2 separate regions of the Homo sapiens genome follow, and region 2 is linked to region 1. The links are contacts of gene promoters, found by promoter capture Hi-C in human tissues and cell types (Jung and others, 2019). All regions are on one chromosome and are shown on one strand. The core of a region is centred on a gene start or on the middle of the fragment in contact, and the rest is flanking DNA. Distances in the headings are between cores, read along the strand shown. Region 1 holds the start of TSPAN19 (tetraspanin 19). Region 2 overlaps LOC102724680 (a long non-coding RNA gene).

Region 1 (5,633 bases), core at 2,518-5,017:
GTGGTAAGGAAGATGTTTATGGTAATTTCAAAACTGTGGTTCAAGGTTACAAAGTTAAAACACAACAAACTGTGCATCCAAGCAACGATTCAAAGAAGCCCATGACTATGTTTACAAAGAATGGTAAAATGAGATGTTCATGTGTTGGCTTTTTCAGCCATAAGCTCCACATACTGGAAACAACGTCAATGAGAACAATGACGTGCCAACACAAAGATACACAGTAAGTTAAGTGTAGTTCTTATTTAAATATTTGTAGTGTGAAAGATCTATATTTTCTTTTGCTATAAACAAAGAATTTGTTTCTAACTTAATTAAATAAGGTCCTGGTGTGGCATTTATTTTGTTCAGTTCCTGATTAGTTAATTGATGTTGAAAGCTCAACAGCAGAGATGCTATAGGAATGGACAACTTACAATAATTAATCTATTCATAGGTATTATTTTGCACTAGTTTAATAAACTCTAATTGCTTCTTGTTATTGTTTTTATATTCTAAGTTCCAAGAGATGGGAACACACAAATGAACAAGTAAGAGAATGTCAAGGAGTCAAATATTAAAACCTGAATTATGTGTTGAGGTGGGGACAGGAAATAAAGGAAACAGGAAAGTTTCATAGAGAAGATGATTTTGAGATGACTCTTGAAGGAAGATTAAGAAGGTCCTAGTTAGATAAAAATGGGAGAGAGATAGGAAATATTCAAGACAGAGGGAACACTATGTTCAGAAGCTTTATAATGAGGTGTAAGGAGGCATGGATCAGAGTGGCAAGAGATGAAAGATAAGCTAAAGAAGTAGACTCAGTAAAGATTGTGACAAATCTTATATGCTTTACTAAAGATTTTTTTTTTCCTGAAGGTAATAGGGAGTCGTAATTCTGGCCTCAATGTGGAAGCCAAATTAGAAAAGACACTTAAGATAGGGGGATAATTTATAAATGGCTGTGGGAATGGAAACAGTATCACAATATGAGAGATGTAGTAGGAAGTAGAATTGCCAGCATTGGGATAACCAAAGAATCAAAGATGGAATGTAGTCTGTAGAAATGATGTAATTAAACTTTGAACATTATCTCATATTCTACATTGTCTCATTTAAATTGATTCCCTTTATCGTCGATATTTTGCAAATGCTATTATCCCCAATATCATCAATGAGGAGAGAAAGACTCAGCAAGGCAAAATTACTTGCCAAAGGTCACTTAGTTAATAAATGGCAGAGATGAGATTTAACTCCATTGATATAAACCACCCTCTCAATAACTTTCCCAAGCCCCAGTATCATCATCTGTAAATGCAGATTGTAATAGTACATGCCTCAAAGAGATGTTGTGAAAATTAGATGAGATTATGTTTGTAAAGCTCTTAGCCCAGTGCCTGGCTAGATGTTAGTTATCTCGTTATATCATAAGGCTAGAATCTCGTTATATCATATCTCAGTATAGAAATATTAAGATTATACAAGAGTCATGCATGTGAGAATGGGGAATGGGATGGAAACTGTGGGAAAGTCATAAATTCTCATTTTTCTGTGAAGTGGTTGGTCATGACAGCAGCTGGGAGGGAGCACAAAGAGAGTTAGAGAATCTGAAGGCTTGAGACACACTTTAAGTGGAACAAGAGAATGAGAGGCCTAAGAATACAATATGTGGTACTATGAGCTACATAGTAAATTACTTTTACTCAATAATTACGGTGCCTCAAGAAAATGAAACAAAGAAATACCTGCTCTGCAACTATTTTGAACACAACAATGATATTATGGGATATTTAAATTATATCACTGCCATATGAAGAATAAAGCAGTTGTTGAAAAATGCTCTTAAACTAAAATGATTTCACTACAACACATTTTCAAAGGAATATTAGTCTTGTCAGATAACAAAGAACAAACAGTTATCTCTCATTCTTTCATTCTCTCAATAAATATTTATTATGTACTCTCTAAAGGAAATATGCATTGTTAAGCCAATATGCTATAAATCAACCACACCTACAAATTGTTTTTAAAATTTAAATGAAATGAAGTTAACATGTTCAAAAGAAACAAAAGTCTACTCAGGTTAAAGAGTCATAGGCAAACCAACATACTCAATCTGAAGTTACCGTTTCTAGGAATAATGCAATTAAAATGGACTTCTGCTAAATACTACATGGTTGATAAACAACAGTGTCAAGTTAAATTTACTTATAATCTACAAATGTATTAGATAACTGCTGCCTTTTATTTTTGATTAGTTATATTCTAGCGAAATTATGACTAATTGATAAAGTTGTCCTTTCTTCCAAAGTAAAAAATCGCATGACAATATAGGAGATCTATCACCATGAATTAATTTATCTTCAGAAAATCTTTCACTGTTTTTCTTTTTTGCTGTCAATATTTGACAAAGTAAGCTTTGAGAAGGAAAGGAACTAAGGCATTATTTCCAAAATTATTTGATTATGAAAACTAGTTATTCAAAATTAATTTTGAAATTATTAAAGGATTTATAATTTTTAGAAGTCTGGATAGTTTCACAATCAAAAATAAAACTAATCTTAAGATTCTTATGTGAACTTCAACACAATATGAAAGTCTATTTTAAATGAACAGTTTGAGGTTCGAACACAGTAGCTCATACCTATAATCCCAGTGCTTTGGGAGGCCAAGGCGGGAGGATTACTTGAGTACAAGAGTTGGAGGCTACAGTGAGCAATAATTGTACCACTGCACTCCAGCCTGGGCAACAGAGGGAGACCCTGTCTCTAAAAAAACAATAAAAAATAGATAATTTCAATAGTCTATAAATCAGCAATAAAACCAAACTTAAAAAAAAGAACAAATTCCATTTGAGCATGGACTTTGATAATGAAAATACTCTGAATTTAATTAGACCTGAAACCAAGTGTAGTTTATTTTTTAAAATCATCTTTCCTGAAAAGGAAACTAACATGTGTGCTTTTAATATGAGAAATCTATTAACGTCTCACTTTATATTATTAGTTCTTATGTTGATGCAATTCAAGTTTATTGTTACCAGGAAATGTAGTCTATTTTTTTTCCAGAGGCTCAGTGAAATATTTGCTTTTAGCTTATTTTATAGCAGATACCTTTTACAATTATGGCTACTTCCTTTTAGAATTTAATGCCTTATTTGCAAACTTTAAAAGAAAATTAAAGTAAAAAATATGTTATTAATTAAAATATTATTTTGTACCCTATGTATTTGCTCCACAAAAAACTTTAATAAATTAAGTTAAAATTAAATAGCATGACATAAACTTAGAAATTAAGGTTTTATATTGAAATACTGTGTGACAATATTTTTACAGTAAAATAACTCCAGAAAATAATTTTTCAAATTTCTCACCCACATCCCTTCAGTTAGAGGTTTTTGATGGGCATTGATTGATGATTTTTTTCTTTTTTCCTTTTTCTTTTCTTTTCTTTTTTAAAAAACTGTTGTCATGGAAGGCAAACAACTTATTGACTTCTCTTCCATACTTCTATGTCCCACAAATCACTGTTCAGGATTAAGGGTTTGTGGAATGAACACCTTATACATGGGCAAATCACCAGATGGAAATATAAATATATGTAGCTCAGAAACAATTTAAAAAATTTAAAAGTGAGATTACATCTACTTGGGTAATTATAACAAAATTTCATTTTATTAAGTATTTTCCAAAGTTACTTAAATATTAAAATCTACCTGTAAAAAACCGTAAGCTCCTCATCCAGTCCCTGAAATGCTGCGTTCGTTTCAATTTAGAATCGAGATTGTTTGTCCTTCTAGAGCACCTGTAGGGAAAAACCGGTGTCTCTTCCTTGTGATTGGCTGTTGCCATGGATACGCTTTGTGTAGCGGCTATGGGCGCTGTCTTACAACAAAGCCAAGGAATCTCGCTGCTGAGGGGTGAGCCGGGGTCTTAAGACTGGGATTCCCGTTGAGGGAGGTGAACAGCTGTGGGAGCTCAGGCCGAGCCGGGACTCTCTCTGCCTGGCCAGACTTCCAGCAAAGGGAGAGACCGCGGGTCAGGGGATGGCTGTGCGACTCTGCGAAGCTCGAGGCTCCCTTCCACCCTGGAGATTTCGAGAACTCATTCAAAACTTAAAGAGATGTCTTGGCTATGTAGGGATCATTCGATGGTTACTCACTCACCGCTCCCCACAAACCAATTGACGTTATTTTCCTTCCTTCCTTCCCTTCTTGTCGCCCTCCTTTCCACCCTTTCTTTTTCTGTCTCTCTTTCTTTCTTTTTTTTTTGGTAATATATAATTTATATGAACCTTATAAAGTAGATTTCTCTCCCCTTTCTTTACAGGGGTTGAAGGGGGAGTTCCTTAAGCTTTTCTACTTTTGACAGCTTTAGTGAACTCCAAGTGATTCGTTATCAACTTAGAGCACTTTAATGTAGCCCATTTACAGTGAGACCCATCCATGACTGCACGTCATATACAGTAACCACTAACTGCAGGTGGCTACTGAGGACTTGAAATGCAGCTAATCCTAACTGAGATGTGCTGCAGGTGTAAAACACACAACAGATTTCTAAGAATTACTGTCCAAAGAAAGAATATAAACTCTTTGCAATGATATTAATAATTAATTTTGTTATTACACGTTGAAATATTTTGGATATATTGGGTTAAATAAAATATATTATAAAAATTAATTGCACTTCTCTTTTGTTTTTAAAAAGTTGCTAATAGAAAATTTAAACTTGCGTAAGTGCTCAAATATGTAATTGGACAGGGGTGATCTAATGAGCCAGTAGATGAACAGAGAAAGTCATGTAAAGGAAATGACTCTTACCTCCACCATACTCTCCTGCCTCTCTTTCTATATAAAGTTTAGTATACCCGTGCATTTTGCTTTGTAGGCATAAAAAAAAAATCTAGCTTTCCTTCTAATAAAGCTTTTTAAATGCACTTTGAGTTCCATTGCAGGATAATATTTTGCCCTGGTTCTGTCTGGAGTTCCATTTCACTTTGTTTTTCTTTTCTTTTCTTTCTTTTCCTTTTTTTATTTTATTTTTTATTTTTGAGTGAGTGAGTGAGGGTGGAAGTTATGGGTAGAACTGATTTTGAGATGATTGAGTAGAGTGAAAGGAGGAATTAACGAAAGGGAAAGAGGATGGAAAGAAGGAATGAAGAAAAGAACAAGAAGACAGGTGGAAAGGTCAGGCCCTTGAGTAAAGAAAGAAAGGTTTAAACTAGTGTCATGAAAAATAAAATGATAGCTGACTAGTACGTTTTCAAACCTTTTTTGGGACTAAGACCAACAGTGAAAAATAAAAAACAGAACATTAACAACAACACATATTACATTGCAACTCATGCATACATACCTACATTTATATGTATTAATAACTGAAACAAAAATTTTATAAACAATTCTGATCTTTATTATATATAGTAAAATTATATAAACATATAAATCAATAAGAGTATTAGCGTACAATTACAGTTGATCATTTTGTAGTCAAAGTTTAAAAAGAATGATTGAAGAGATAAAACAATGTTTGGTGTAACCATAATAAGGTGTGATAAAAGTTTGTTAAATTAAAACATATTTAAATAAATATGTTGGATTGGTATGACAAATTAGAGAACACATAATTTTTAGTGACATATTAGCCTCTTCATTT
Region 2 (5,317 bases), core at 2,198-4,697, 110 kb before region 1:
CTTCTGTGCTGGGGACTCTTCTAGATCTCACCTGATATGGACCTCTTCACCTGGCTGTTCATTTGTAACTTTTATAGTATCCTTTTCAACGAGCCTGTAAACATTATTAAATTTTTCCCTGAGTTTTTTTGGCTATTATAGCAAATTCTCAAACATGAGAAGAAGGTGGTAGGAAGCCCAATTTGTAGCCAAGCCAGATAGAAGTGAGTACCCTGGGCACTAAATACTTGTGACTGGTGTCTGAAGAGGGAGCAAGTCTTGTGGGACTTAGCCTTTAAACTGTGGGGTCTGCACTAACTTTGGATAGTTAGTGTGAGAATTGAATGAATTGTAGGATACCCAACTGGAGTCCACAGAAAATTGGAGAATTGGTTGATGTGGAAAGCTTACATCTTTGGTGGGAACTGAGTGTAAAGAAACAGTTTCCTATACACATTAGACCATCTTTTCATCATTCTACCTAACCATCAAACCATCATATTTTATTGAAGCATTTCCAAATAAATTTTAAACATCAATGCATTTTCTCCCTAAACACTTCAGCACATATTCACTGGAATTCAATATGTTTATAGTTCTTTTTTTTCCCTTGGAGATGAAATTTACATAAGACAAAGTTAACAAGTCTTAAGTATATCATTTAGAATCTTGACACAACTCTGTAACCCAACTACTTGTCAAGATATAAAACATTGTCATCACTGGAGAAAATTTGTTCTTTCCTCTTCCCAGTCAACACCTACATCATTACCCAGAGGCAACTACTTTTCAGATTTTCTTTTTCCAACATACATACATTTTACATCTCTACAACTTTGTATAAATAAAATAATAGAGTAGTGTCTTTTATTAATGCTAGTTTCACTGAGCATAATGCTTTTTGATTCATCCATGTTGTTTGCGTTTCTTTTTATGGCTGAGTAGAATTCTTTCAGATGAATACAAATATACAATGATTATTCATACTCTTAATTATGGATATCTGTGATATTTTCAATGTGGAATGTTTAGAATACTTTTGCTACAAATATTCTTGCATATTTCTTTTTGTGTACTTTTTTTTGTTCATTTCTTTTATGTAAATTCCTTGGATAGAACTCTTGTGCCATACCATAGTTGTTGTATATTTAGCTTTAAAGGAAACTGGTGGAACTTTTAAAAAATGGGTCTATCTTCCAAGTTTGTGCTCTCAATGACTATGTATAGAGTCGAGAGGGACTTTACAGGAAGAATAGGATTTTTTTTTCAAGGAGAAAATTTAGAGAAAGATATTTCAGATCAAGGGAATAATACCAAAAAAGTACACACCTGTCAGAGTACATTTCGCCCATGAGAAGAAATTAGATATGTGTTTGGATATAGTGAGAGATGAGATTGCAAAGGTAATTAAATCGTGTCCTGGAGATTTGCTTGATCACAGTGCTAAAGATTTGGGACTTATTGCCACAAAAAGTGGGCAATCATAGCAGTTTTGGGGAGAAGGAGTAACCATTTATTCATTCATTCTTAATAGAAAACATTTCCAAACTGCTAAGCATACATAAGCACTATAGTGGTCTCTCTAATAGTTTAAGAGGAGATGCAAGGGGTCTGAGACGGTATAATCTCAGGAAAGGAAAGAACATCTCTTGAGAATCACTGAAAAGGTGAAATCTAAGAGATCTTGTGGTTAATTAGATTTAGTTTTCTGAAAGAAAATAAGGGTCTGTTGTTAGCCCGAATGTGAAGAGTTGGGAAGCTAACATTGCCTTAACCAGAACAGGAAACCTAAAAGATAGTCAAGTTAAAACCAGAAAGCTGGAAGCAGAAAGTGTTTTTGAAGACACACGTCTTATGAAACACAGCAGTTCTGCTAGGATACCAAGTACCTCGTAAAAGAGCTTCTAATTGTGAGAGTTTGTGTTCCAGGTTTTACATAAGAAAATAAAACTTATTTAAACTGTTCTGCAATAAACACAGGGCTATTTTAATTCTAAGTTGATATGCCATAGTCCAGTTACAGTTATAAGGATCTGTCAGATAATTTCTTAGAATAGTTTTGTTTGTTGTAGGAAAGAAATACAGCCAAGAAGATCATATTTCCTTTGAAAATAACAATATTCAATGATTTAAAATTGGATTTCAAGCCAAGTGCAGTGGCTCACCCCTGTAGTCCCAGCACTTTGGGAGGCCAAGATAGGCAGATCTCATGAGCCCAGGAGTTTGAGACCAGTCTGAGAAATGTGGCAAAACACCAACTCTACTAAATATAAAAATTAGCCAGTCCTGGTGATGTGTGCCTGTAGTCTCAGCTATTTGGGGGCTTGAGGCAGGAGGATCACGTGAGCCCAGGAGGTGAAGGCTACAGTGAAGTGAGATCATGCAACTGTACTTCAGCCTGGGCAACAGAGCAAGATTCTCTTTCTAAATAAATAAATAATTTAAAATATATATATATATATATATATATATATAATAGATTTCAGAGCTTTTAAAATGTATTAATGTGCATTTTAAAAGGATTCTGAATCACTTTTCCAAAGTGCGTGCTAGAATCCAACCTCAGTATATCATGTTAGAAAGGTCTAATCTATCTTTCTAGAGCTTGATCTGTTTCTTATGCCCATAGTGCTTGGACTGAATTCTTTTCCAACCTCAAAAGTGGATCCACATGTCTCAAATATTGCTCATGGCAAGGATTTCCTGCTTGAAAACCTACTTGGCCAAAATATTACCTCTGAAAAGAGTTTTGGTTTTTTTGTGTGTATACTACATGCCAGATAAGCCCTTGGATGTTGACTTTATTCTGATTAAGGAAAGGTCCTTAGAGGTCTCAATCAAGTATCAAGAAAAACATTAAAGTTCATGGAGCTACCATCTTTTCATCTTTTTCTATATACAATTACATACCACATAACAACATTTCAGTCAAGGATGGATTAAATATATGATGGTCTTCCCATAAGATTATAATGAATCAGAAAATTTCTACCACCTGATGACATTATAGCCATCATAGGGTCATAATGTGATGCATTATTCATGTTTTCAGTGATGCTGGCTTAAACAAATCTGTGCTGCCAATTGTATAAAAGTGTGCTGTAAGGTCATAGGCCTTCATATTCATTTACCACTCACTCACTAATGCATCCCAGAGCAACTTCCCATACTGCAAACTCCATTCATGGTAACTGTCCTATAAAAGCATATATTTTCTTTAAAAAATCATTTATACTCTATTTTTACAGCACCTTTCCTATGTTTAGATATGTTCAGGTATACAAACTTACCATTATGTACAATTACCTGGAATATTCAGTACAGTAACATGCTGTACAGTTTTGTAGCCTAGGAGCAATAGGCTATACCACAGAGATTATATGTGTAGTATGGTACATCTAGGTTGGTGTAAGTACACTCTTTGAGGTTCACAGAATGACAAAATCACCTAATGATAAGTTTTTCGTAATGTATCCCCATTGTTAAGCAACACATGATTATATAGTATATTAGCGAATTCTATCAGCTATTTCATAAAACATTTCTCATATTGATCCATTTCAAATTATTCTTTCTGTTTCTACCATTGTCTCAACAAACATTTTACTTATGAAACAGCTCTCATCGCTGAGCTGTAATCTCTGTGAGCTATCATTTCTAACTTTGAACATCCCAAACACAGCTAGACATTTTATTTGAACATTTGGCTGCTCTCTTCAGTATGTTAGTCTTGCTAACCTTGAATCTACACAGTCTTGACAGGCAGACAACACTGCTGAAGACCACAGACTCAGAAGCCTCTTTTATTGGGATCGAAGCTCAACTCTGCCATGTGCTATCTGTATAGCTTTGGAAGCTCACTTAACATTTTTGTGTTTCAGCTTTCTTCTCTGTAAAATGGAGATAATAGCACCTACCTTACAAGATAGCTGTAAGTGTTAAAAGTTATGTAAAGCATTTATAAAAGTGGCTAACATCTAAAGAGGTTCTTAAAAAGTTCATGGAAAATGTGCATTATGAAAAATCTATGCATGAATTTCAATTTTTTTGCACCAAAATAAACATTGCAGACAATGTCCTAAAGAAATCAGCACTTTACAAATGGAAAACTCATTTTATGAAAAGACAAGAAGATGTTGAAAATGAATTCTATGGTGGCAGACCATCAACAATAATTTTGAAGGAAAATAAATTGTTCGCTTTTTCATGCCCTAATTGAAGAAGATTGAGGATTAACAGCAGAAACAATAGCCAGCGCTGCAGACATCTCCATTGGTTTAGCTTACACAACTCTGACTCGAAAATTTAAGTTCAACAAGTTTTCCACTTGATGAGTGCCAAAACGATTATACCCACATCAGCTGCAAATAAGAGCACAGTTTTCCATGAAAATTTTAAACAAATGAAACCAAAATCCTGAAGCATTTCTTCAAAGCATTGTAGCAGCAGATAAAACATGGCTTTACCAGTAGGATCCTGAAGACAAAGCACAGTCAAAGCAATGGCTACCATGCCAGTCAAGAGCAAAAGTCATGACAATAGCTTTTTGGGATGTTCAAGGCATTTTGCTTGTTGACTTTCTGATGAGCCAGAGAAAAAATAACATCCGCTTTTTATGAAGGTTTTGAGAAAGTTAATCAAAGTGTTACCAGAAAAACACCTGAGAAAGCTTCACCAGAGAGTCCTTCTCCACCATGACAATGCTCCTGCTCATTCGTCTCATCAAAGAAGGGCAATTTTGCAAGAGCTTTGATGGAAAAATCATTAGGCATCCATCTTTCTGTTTGGATTTGGCTCCTTCTGACTTCTTTTTGTTTCTAATCTTAAAAAAATCTATAAAGGCCACCCATTTTTCTTCAGTTAATAATGTGAAAAAAACTACATTGACATTGTTAGATTCCCAGAATTTTCAATTCTTTAGGAATGGACTAAATGGCTGGTATTATTGCTTACAAAAGCGTCTTGAATGTGATGAAAATTATGCTGAAAAATTGTTTTTATTTTTATCCTTTAATTTAATTTTCCTCATGAACATAATATATACAAGCTCCCTTGTGTATATATTATGAATTTGTTTCACTTTCCTTGTTCAATGCTAGAATTTCACACCTTGTTGGGGAGACCTAAAGAATCCATAATGGAAAAAAGTGAAGTTTCCACTACATAAGAACAAATAAAAATAAATATATAAAGCCAAAGAGACCAAATATAATGTCTAATTCAAAAAAATTAAATGTGAGAAAATATTTACTATGTGCCTTGCTTTCCTTGCCTTTGTATAAGCTATTGAACTTTCTTTCCTTCTCCAACTGACAAAAAGCTATTTGTTTTTTAAAAT

Evidence for each region. The method cuts DNA at HindIII sites, captures the fragments that hold promoters and counts their contacts. A contact is called where the count stands out against the background at its distance.
Region 2: a contact is called between a fragment that was not itself captured here and the fragment with the promoter of TSPAN19 in region 1, in 2 of the 25 tissues and cell types used here (dorsolateral prefrontal cortex and hippocampus).

What each region holds. Positions count from the first base shown.
Region 1 is chr12:85,032,510-85,038,142 of GRCh38, forward strand. It overlaps TSPAN19 (tetraspanin 19), which reads right to left and starts at 3,768. Exons shown (of 9, transcript NM_001100917.2): 1 at 3,695-3,768. LRRIQ1 (leucine rich repeats and IQ motif containing 1) reads left to right here and starts at 3,842. Exons shown (of 27, transcript NM_001079910.2): 1 at 3,842-3,898. The HindIII fragment of the contact is 3,053 bases long and covers 1,564-4,616 here.
Region 2 is chr12:84,927,051-84,932,367 of GRCh38, forward strand. The region is part of intron 2 of LOC102724680 (a long non-coding RNA gene); the gene reads left to right. Among named protein-coding and RNA genes, the nearest start is that of SLC6A15, 17 kb to the left of the region's middle. The HindIII fragment of the contact is 6,511 bases long and covers 193-5,317 here.